Regions from separate parts of the Homo sapiens genome. Here region 1 is linked to region 2. The links are contacts of gene promoters, found by promoter capture Hi-C in human tissues and cell types (Jung and others, 2019). All regions are on one chromosome and are shown on one strand. The core of a region is centred on a gene start or on the middle of the fragment in contact, and the rest is flanking DNA. Distances in the headings are between cores, read along the strand shown. Region 1 overlaps CYFIP2 (cytoplasmic FMR1 interacting protein 2). Region 2 holds the start of FNDC9 (fibronectin type III domain containing 9).

Evidence for each region. The method cuts DNA at HindIII sites, captures the fragments that hold promoters and counts their contacts. A contact is called where the count stands out against the background at its distance.
Region 1: a contact is called between a fragment that was not itself captured here and the fragment with the promoter of FNDC9 in region 2, in 3 of the 25 tissues and cell types used here (H1 embryonic stem cells, dorsolateral prefrontal cortex and hippocampus).

What each region holds. Positions count from the first base shown.
Region 1 is chr5:157,267,682-157,271,559 of GRCh38, reverse strand. All of the region lies in intron 1 of CYFIP2 (cytoplasmic FMR1 interacting protein 2), which reads right to left. Among named protein-coding and RNA genes, the nearest start is that of CYFIP2, 3.5 kb to the right of the region's middle. The HindIII fragment of the contact is 6,073 bases long and covers 1-3,878 here.
Region 2 is chr5:157,344,133-157,349,507 of GRCh38, reverse strand. FNDC9 (fibronectin type III domain containing 9) reads left to right here and starts at 3,831. Exons shown (of 2, transcript NM_001001343.4): 1 at 3,831-3,967. The region is part of intron 23 of CYFIP2 (cytoplasmic FMR1 interacting protein 2); the gene reads right to left. The HindIII fragment of the contact is 6,264 bases long and covers 1-5,375 here.

The sequences.
Region 1 (3,878 bases), core at 13-2,512, 75 kb after region 2:
TATTGTATGTGAGGCGAGGGTTCAAGATCTCTGTGTGATATTATTGCTTGCATGTTCATCTCTTCCCTTGAGTGGCAGGAATGGAGCAGAGTTGGGGGGTTGGCTGTGGGGGCTGATGTGTTCAGCATGTCAACATTGTCCATTTTGTGTACTAAAAAAACCACAACAGCAACCAGTTAAGAATCACTGGATTTGGGCCTCTCTCAGGACCCTCCCAACACTAAAGCAAATGACCATGACTACAGTTGAGACATTCCATCCAAAGGGCTTCCTTAAAGACATGTGTTAAGGATCATGCAGACCATTCTCTGTGGCCAAGGTATACAGGGCATAATAAACCTGTCCAAGGATACTCTTCCTTTGTGCCTTTGCTCAAACTGTCTCCACTCCCTTATGGACTGTCTTCTTCCCTTCTCAAATCTTACCGATCTATCATGGCCCACACGAAGACATGCCTTTTCCACAAAGGTCTGACCAGCCAAGCCCCTTAATGACCTTTATTTCTCTCACTCCCTTAGCACTCACAGTCTAGAGTCCACAGTTTTTAACTGCACGACAAACTGCTTTATATTTCACTAATTCTTTGGATTGCTAAGAATGCCAAGGATAGTCATCTTATCTGAGTTTGACCCATAGCAACCAGCACAGAGATAGGCACACACCAGGAATTACTTGCTTAATTAATACTTCATGAATGATTTGTTGACTGCATGAGCCAATGACCAAAATTCTTAACTTCTGGTTTAAAAAAATTAACAAGAAAGTTAAAATATCATGCTTCTCTAAGGTCCCATATCCAAGGCTGCCTTGTCAATATAAGAATCTGAGGAGAGTTCTTTAGAAAATCCTTCTGTCGTATAGTTTCCACTTCAAACCCTAAGAAGCAGGTCCTCATTTCTCTTTCCCATATGGAAGTATAACAGACTTGGAGATAGGGGGCTGACCTCTAGTTCTGAATTCTTATCTTGCCATTCATATCTTGCCAAAACAAATCTTAAAGCATCATATTTTAAAAGCACAAATCAAAAATAGTTCTCGGATATTCCTTAAGAGTTACTGCATGTCTTCTCTGAGGGTCAGCCCTGCAAATTCTCTTTGATCTCAGCCAGGCCTTCAGTGAAGTTAGACAATTCTCTCATTCTTCCCCAGTTTATTTCTTATTCCACCCACATAGGCAACTGTTCCAAACCCTGAAGTCTCCTGAAGTTTCCTAACCAGTCCATCACCTTTATTTCCTGCAGAGGACCTCACCTCCTGCCTTACTTAGAAAACAGAGAACATGGACAGACTAAACACACCTCTGTTTTACCTAGAGATTAAAGCCTAAGAACCATTGCTCTACAATGACCAAATAATGACGCAAACAGAATCAAAAGGTCTACTGATGAAGTCATCACTGGGTCTTTCTCAGGCATCTCGCAAGAAGGTCCTATTTACTTCCCTCTCTCACTGCCTGTATCTGAGTTGCCCAAAGTCTATCAAAATGCCACGCAACCAGAATGATCCCTGCAAGAAATTCTGCCTGAACTCAAGCTCTGCCTTCTCAAAACAATTTCTTTCAAGAATTTGCACCCTCTGTTGCCAGGGCCCAAGTATGGCTTAAATGGCTATTTTTTGAGGTACATCACACACAGCCCTTAGCATAATGCCCATGGCTAGAAAGCCAATATCTAAGCTCTTTGCATCCTGGGAGGCGTCCCATACCCACTGACTGAATTCTGAAGTGTCTTTGTACAGACAAGGCCATCCAGGGGCCTTGACAGAATCTGTGAATCACAAAGTGCCTTTAAGCTTCCCATTGGCTCAACAGTACAGAGAGGCCACAGATCCATCTTCTTAAAGTGACACACAATATATAATTAATAAATTGTTTCTTAAGGAATGGAGGGCATTTACCCAAAAGAGTCACACATTCAGGAGGCTCCTTCTCTATTTCCACGGCTTTTTTTTCTCAGACTGGGATTTACAGACATTACCTCATCCGCAGGCTTTCATGATGACAGGCAGGTAACAGTTGGGCAGGCTGCCTTCCATTGCTCAATTTTGAACGTCAGAGAGGTAGTGGCTGGTTTAAGGGCACACAGCAAGTCAGGGATCCTGTGTCCCATGCTCACTGTGCTGCTCTGTCTGCCCTGGAAGCAAAGCATGCCCTCAACATTTTTGGATGGTTGCAAAATGCTGAATTCTCACAGAGGAAGAGGCCCTTCCTTAACTCTACGTGTTGAAATGTGAGAATGGCCCTGGGCTTCTGCTTGGCTTGTTCCCTCCCACTTCTCCCTACCTACTCAGGTTCCACCCACCTCTCTTGTGCTACTTAAGAGCACTTCCCACCTGAAGCCTTTCACTTCATGCCCTATCACTCTTAACTTTCCCTTCCTTCGGCCGGTAAACTTGGGGCTGGGTTTACTGGTCACAGAGACCAACTTCCCTCAAAAAAGCAAAATTCAGGAAAGCTCTGGAGGGAGAGGGGCTGGTAATAGCCAAGGGTTGATTACATACATAAGCCAAATTCTTAATGATTATGTAATTAATACATTATAACAATAAATACATAAATATGCTAGTACTTACTATGTGCTAAGCATTCTGCTCGGCACTTTCATGCACCCCTTGGGTAGTAAGAGCATCCAAAGATATTCTAGTTCCTCCCCTGCCTCCATTCACTGCCAAGAAGGCAGCAGCCTGCCCCCCTTCTCCCACCATCTCACTACTGATGCAGGGGCCATCCCCTGGACCCTAGGCATGGCTTTGCTCCTCAGAATGACAGGACCAAAAGCCTTTCATAAAGACTCCAGTGAGGTGACTGATGTCTGGCTTTGTCAATTACAAGTGAATAATTAATACTTGCCAGTAAAGAAATAGACTCATTGTTACGGTGGCCACATGGAGGCTACAAAAGGCCATTTTGTGACGCTTTTGGTGGACCCCTGGGGCCAACAGTGGTCCAAAGAAGCTGCGTTGAGAGTGTAGTCCAATCTTTAAACGTAGGGACTGGGACCCGTACTGTTTTCCAGGAGCGCTTTTCCCGTTAATTAGCTTGTAGCCGATTCATCATCTCATTCAGCTTTCTGGTTGATGACAGCAGCAGAGGCCACTGAACATCAGAGAGGGCATGATTTATCAGAGGGGTCATGTAGTGTTCTACCAGGGCCTTTTACCGGTTTTTGAATTCATGTCTACTTCCTTCTCTGGGCCAGCATCTGATTTGAGTAAAACTCTCCAACCCCACTGGGTTGTACATCCGACTCTTGGCCTAATGCCTAAAGCAAGTTTTTCCTTTTTCATTTTCCAGCAGGGACTGAACAAGGCAGCCTTGGGTGCCTACAGAACCGGTCAGAACTGGCCAGGAAATATAATAAAGAAGCTTAGTGAGCAGAGAGCTAATGCCCCCAGCCAGAGGCTCAGTGCGCACAACTAGCTAGAGGCACTGACTTTGTAAGCAACAACACTATCTTCTTGAGGTCTAATAATTGCCTTGGCAAAGGGCAGCCAATGCCAACGAGGAACCCTGTGTACACAAGTTTCTCATCCCGAAAGTGGACACTGGGTGCTCAAAAAATGCCTTCTGGTGACAGTAACACCTGACCAGTCAAACAAACATGCACGCATGCACATGCATGCATACACACTCTTACAGCATTCCTGCCTGCAGGGCCAAAGCTGCCCTTGCCAAATACAGAGCTGACAGCTGCTAGATATTGTCATTTCAGGGACCCGTTCCCAAAAGAACTACCCAGCTCCCCACCTCCACTTCCAGCCCACTGTTTGAAATTCTACCATTAGTGATAGCAAATATTTCTACAGTGTTTCCCATTAAAGCTTTGTTTCCCATTAAAATGCCTCCATCCTCTGTTTCTTTTCCGGTCAAATGACTTGTA
Region 2 (5,375 bases), core at 2,582-5,081:
TAAAGAAAATGTGGCATGTATACATCATGGAATACTACTCAGCCATAAAAAGCAATGAAATAACGGCATTTGCAGCAACCTGGATGGAGTTGGAGACCATTATTCTAAGTCAAGTAACTCGGGAATGGAAAACCAAACATGATTATGTTCTCACTTGAGTGGGAGCTAAGCTATGAGGACAGAAAGGCATTAAGAATGATACAATGAATTTTGGAGACTCAGAAGGGTGGGAGGAGGGAGAGGGATAAAAGACTACACATTGGGCATAGCGTATACTGCTCGTATGATGGGTGCACCAAAATCTCAGAAATCACCACTAAAGAATTAATCTACGTAACCAAAAACCACCTGTTCCCCCAAAATTTATTGAAATAAAAAAAACTGAAATAAGTAAATAAATAAATAAATACATAAAGTGAGGGAATTTGGCCAGGTGCGGTGGCTAATGCCTGTAGTCCCAGTACTTTGGGAGGCCAAGGTGGGTGGATTGCTTGAGCCCAGGAGTTCGAGACCAGTCTGGGCAACACGGTGTGGGGAGGATGCTTTTTTTTTTTTTTTGAGATGAAGTCTTCCACTGTCGCCCAGGCTGGAGTGCAGTGGTGCGATCTTGGTTCACTGCAATGGCAGGGTGCTTTTATGCTCTGTGGGGACTCACCACTAGCTCTTGGGAAGAGGCATGCTGTATGCATTGCTGCAGATTTAAGACAGGCCCCTGGGAAGACTGAATGCCATGGGAAAGCCGCAGAGCAACTATCTGATCTCATATCTACTAAAAATACAAAAATTAGCCAGGTGAGGCGGGGGGCAGTGGCTCACGCCTGTAATCCCAGTACTTTGGGAGGCTGAGGTGGGTGGATCACCTGAGGTCAGAAGTTCAAGACCAGCCTGGCCAACATGGTGAAACTCCGTCTCTACTAAAAATACAAAAATTAGCTGGGCATGGTGGTGCACACCTGTAGTCCCAGGTACTCGGGAGGCTGAGGCAGGAGAATCACTGGAACCCGGGAGGCAGAGGTTGCAGTGAGCCGCAATTTTGCCACTGCATTCCAGCCTGGGCAACAGAGTGAGACTCCAGCTCAAAAATAATAATAATTAGCCAGGGGTGGTAGTGCACACCTGTAGTCCTAGCTACTTGAGGGGGCTGAGGCAGGAGGATCTCCTGAGCCTTGGGAGGTCAAGGCTGCAGTGAGCCATGACTGTGCCACTGCACTCCAGCCTGGGAATTCCAGGGCGTGCTCTGTGAGCCACTCACTTTCCCCATGTGCCAATCCAGCTTTGGGACTGGGGCTTGCCCCATATTATCCCTTCACTGCCACCTTCAGGAAGGGTGGAAGAACCTTGCTCCTAGCTGATTTCCTCTAGCAGTAATTTACTACTGATGTCAACTAGCTGGGGCTCACCTGGCCTGAGAGCGAAGAGGCTACAACTTGCACAGACTCTGGAGGAATTGTCCCTGATGATGGAGAAAGTGTGAGCCTGGCTGGGGTGTAATGTCCTGGGGCAGGTGTCCCAGATACTTTATCTCCTTCACAAACGGCTGCACTGGCTCCTCTGGGTGCTGCTGGTGAGCGGCGACAGCTCAGAGGAGCGGGATGAACCCTGGCCTCCGCCTCCGAGTCTGGGGCCCCACCCCATTTCACTGGCAGCTCTGCCACTCATCAGTCAAGCGGTCTGAGGAATGCCATGTCTTCTCCCAGGACTGTGAAACAAGAGGGCTTGGAGGCCTCACATTCTCTGAGTATCTTAATTCCACAGTGGAAAATTTCTCTTGGTTAAAAATGTCATCCAAGAATATTAAAAATAAATTCCAATTTTCTGTGGAAAAAGGCTTGAGTTCTACCTTGTTCCTCCTCAGACCCCTTAACTCTGGTATTTTTACTCCCCGCAAAATAACCTTTTCAAAGGGCATCTGCAAACAGCTGCGTGGCCTTTCTGTGGGGAGGATGCTTTTATGCTCCGTGGGGACTCACCATTAGCACTTGACCTGGCTGTGCTCGCATGGGAAGAGACATGCTGCATGCATTGCTGCAGATTTAAGACAGGCGCCTGGGAAGACTGAATGCCATGGGCAAGCTGCAGAGCAACTTTCTGATCAAGGAACACTGGCTTGTTCCCGAGTTCCCAAGACTCCAAGCCTCCCGGAGACCTTTGGCCAAGGGTAGGGTCACAACTCACCAAGGCGGCTCTTTTTTTTTTTTTTTTCCAAGGGAAAAAGTCTTTCTATAATACCCAGGCTGGTCTGGAACTCTTAAGCTCAAGTGATCCTCCCACCTCAGCCTCCCAAGTGGCTGGGACTACAGGTGCACACCACTGCAGCTGTGCCTGGCTTTCTTCCTAACCTTTTATCATTAATGTGAATCAGAAAGAGACCTTCATGGGTTAACTTGGATACTTTGGCCAAGAACCAAGAAGAGAAAAGCTGACTTTTAAAAACATATAATGTGTATAAATTTATTCAGGTCTACATCTATCTGAGCTACTTTCCACCCTCTATTCCAGACACACCCTGTGATCTCAATAGAATGGTGGCAATGGGTTCTTACAAGGTTGAAAGGAACAGGAAGGGATGGAACCTCAAAGCCAGACGGCCCTTTATGAGAAAAGGGGAGGCAAGCAGTCTGGATTCTTGAAAGGAAAGGAACGCTGGGGATGATTCAATCCAGGAGTAGCAAACAGTTTCCATTTCTGGCGTCAACTCCAACTGATTGATTGGGAAGCAGTTTCTTGGGACGCTTGTGTTCAGAGGAACTCTGGGGCTGTTTCTGCACCCAGCTGGAAGCAGTGCTGCATTAGATTCCTAGGGTTGCTATCACAAATTACCATAAATGTGGCAGCTTAACATGACAGAAATTTATTCTCTCACAGTTCTGGAGACCAGAAGCCTGAAATCAAGGCTCTCGCAGAACCATGCCCTCTCCAAGGCTCTAGGGGAGAATGTTTCCTTGCCTTCCCAGCTGCTGATGGCTCCCGGTGTTCCTTGGCTGATGGCAGCATCCTTCCACTCTCTGCCTCTGTTTTCCCTTGGCTTCTTCCCCTTGAGTCTCTCTGTCTTTTCTCTTACAAAGACATTAGTCATTGGATTTAGGGCTCACCCTTAAATCCAGGAAGATTTCATCTTGAGATCCTTAACTAGTTATATCTACGAAGGCTCTATTTCTAAATCAGGTCACATCCTAAGGTTCTGGATGGATATGTATTTTGGGGGGGCATTATTCAACCCAGTGAGAGTGCCATGATGGTTTAGCAAGCTTGACAGGGGTTCAGGGCTGTGCAGGGATAGGGCTCAGGTCTTCTGCCTTCTGATCTGCCATCCTGATGTAGCCCAAGCCCACAGCTTTACAGATGATGGTGGAACTGAGACTCAGACAATAAAAATAAAAGGGTCTTGACCAGTACCATATAACTATGTAATGGCACATGAGTCAAGAATAAAGAAAGATGAAGATAAAGAGGTGGGGTAGGCAGTTGGGATGGGGAAGTGTAGGGGTGGGAGGGGATGAAGATGAATATTACTGCTTTGGTTGTGGAATAACTGAGAAAAGCATCTTTGCATTTAAAACCATTGGCCAAAGAGGATCTAGATGGGACAAGAAAATAATAATCAGCCAACTGGGGAGAAAATGTAGGAGTGTTAGAAGAATTAGTACTGCACTGGGGACCAGTTTTCAGGGGATCATCTGCCCTTTTTCAGCCAAAGGAATGAGAGCTCCTCTCACTGGGCAAAAGCCTTTCCAGGCTGGTCCCTGAAAGCATCGTGCGTACAGATGCCTGCTGGTTGCCATGGTGAATGATGCTGATCTGAAGAAATGAATAATGTGAGCATTAGGGGCGGCAGTGGGATTACTCAGTGTTGAGAGAAACAACACGGAAAGCCCAGAGCAGAGGAGGGAGAAGGCCCCATTCTCTCAGCTTTAATCTACTGCACCTCGGAGGGCAGAGCTCTAACCAGACACGCTGCAAGCATCAGGTAAGACATATAGATGGCTCTTCTTGGAAATGGAAATGGCTTCTTTTCACACTCTGCTTGGAGAAGGGCCGGGCAAATGAATAGTTAAAAATAGGGGAGAATTTAGAAACGGAAACAGAGGAAGAAAAATCAATAAGGGAGACGGACCTGGTCCTAAAAGGTGAGGATGCTATTTGCGTCTTGACAGAAAGCTCTTAAAAATGTCTGCTGAGGTAATTCCATCTGTACAGACAGCTAGTGGCAGATAGGAAGCCAAGAGAACATTTGTGCGTGACAAGAAACAGGATTCCTGATTACTCCTGATGGAAAGGTTTTACACAGGTGGCTGCCTATAATGAATTAAGCTCTTTTCATCGTGGTCGAAAGTGTATTTATAGTGATGTGTGGTGTGGGGAGGATGAGTGTGTAGAGGACACCAAGCTAGGAAACATAAACATTCGGTCTCCTTCATGATGACCTTCCCTGGAAGGGTCTGAGCACATCCGTCTCATCCCTTTCGTTCCCTATTTACTGGGAAGAAATATTCAGCCACATAGAAAGACACTATTCACCTTCCTGAGTATCTTAGTTCACTGTTACCCTTACAGAAGAAAAACAAGGATTAAGAAACTACTCAATGCTGTGCACCTTTCTGCAGCTCCACTCCTGGAGGAAAATGGGCACAAACACAAGAGGATGGGGGAAAGCAGAGGTGAGAGAAAGGCAGGTCATAATAGCCATTGGTTTGGCTTAATATCCAATGCAGGCGAAAATCCAGTTGACAGCTGTTTACTATGTCACTGCAACCCAAAATGAAACCTACGGGGTTTCATGTGAGGGAGGAGAGGCGGAAGACAAAGCAGGGTGAGACTGTTATGTGAATATGCGTAGGCTGACTATGACTGTCTCTGTATTTCTGATCAGGGGCAATCAGTAGAGGGAACTGCATGAGAGAAACTAAAATACTTGAAGATGGCTCTCTCTTATCAAAGCGGGGCCTGGCAATCTAAAGAGGGCTCATTTGATTTGTCTGGAAAAACAGCAACTGGGTCTCAGTCCTGGCACCTCATTTTGCGATAACGTCTGTAACTAAACCCGGCAGCCTTGCATTAGGAAATGTAGTGGTTAGGCGGCACTAAGTCCTTTTTCTACGTATTAGCGGTGTGACATCAGGTTGCTCATCCGTAAAATGGGAATCTAGCTCAGAGGATGTGATGAAGAATAAAGGAAATTAATTACTGCCTGTGAATCATCTAGCATGACAAGTGACATAGCAACCACTTACTGTGAGTGGTTATTACCATGATTAACATTCATAATAACAGCAGAATTAAATAGTGGTAGTTATGCTGATATTAGGGGCTGATTATCTTCACCCATAAAATAAATTTCCTGGTACCGCTGGCTTTGAAAAAACAAACAAACAAAA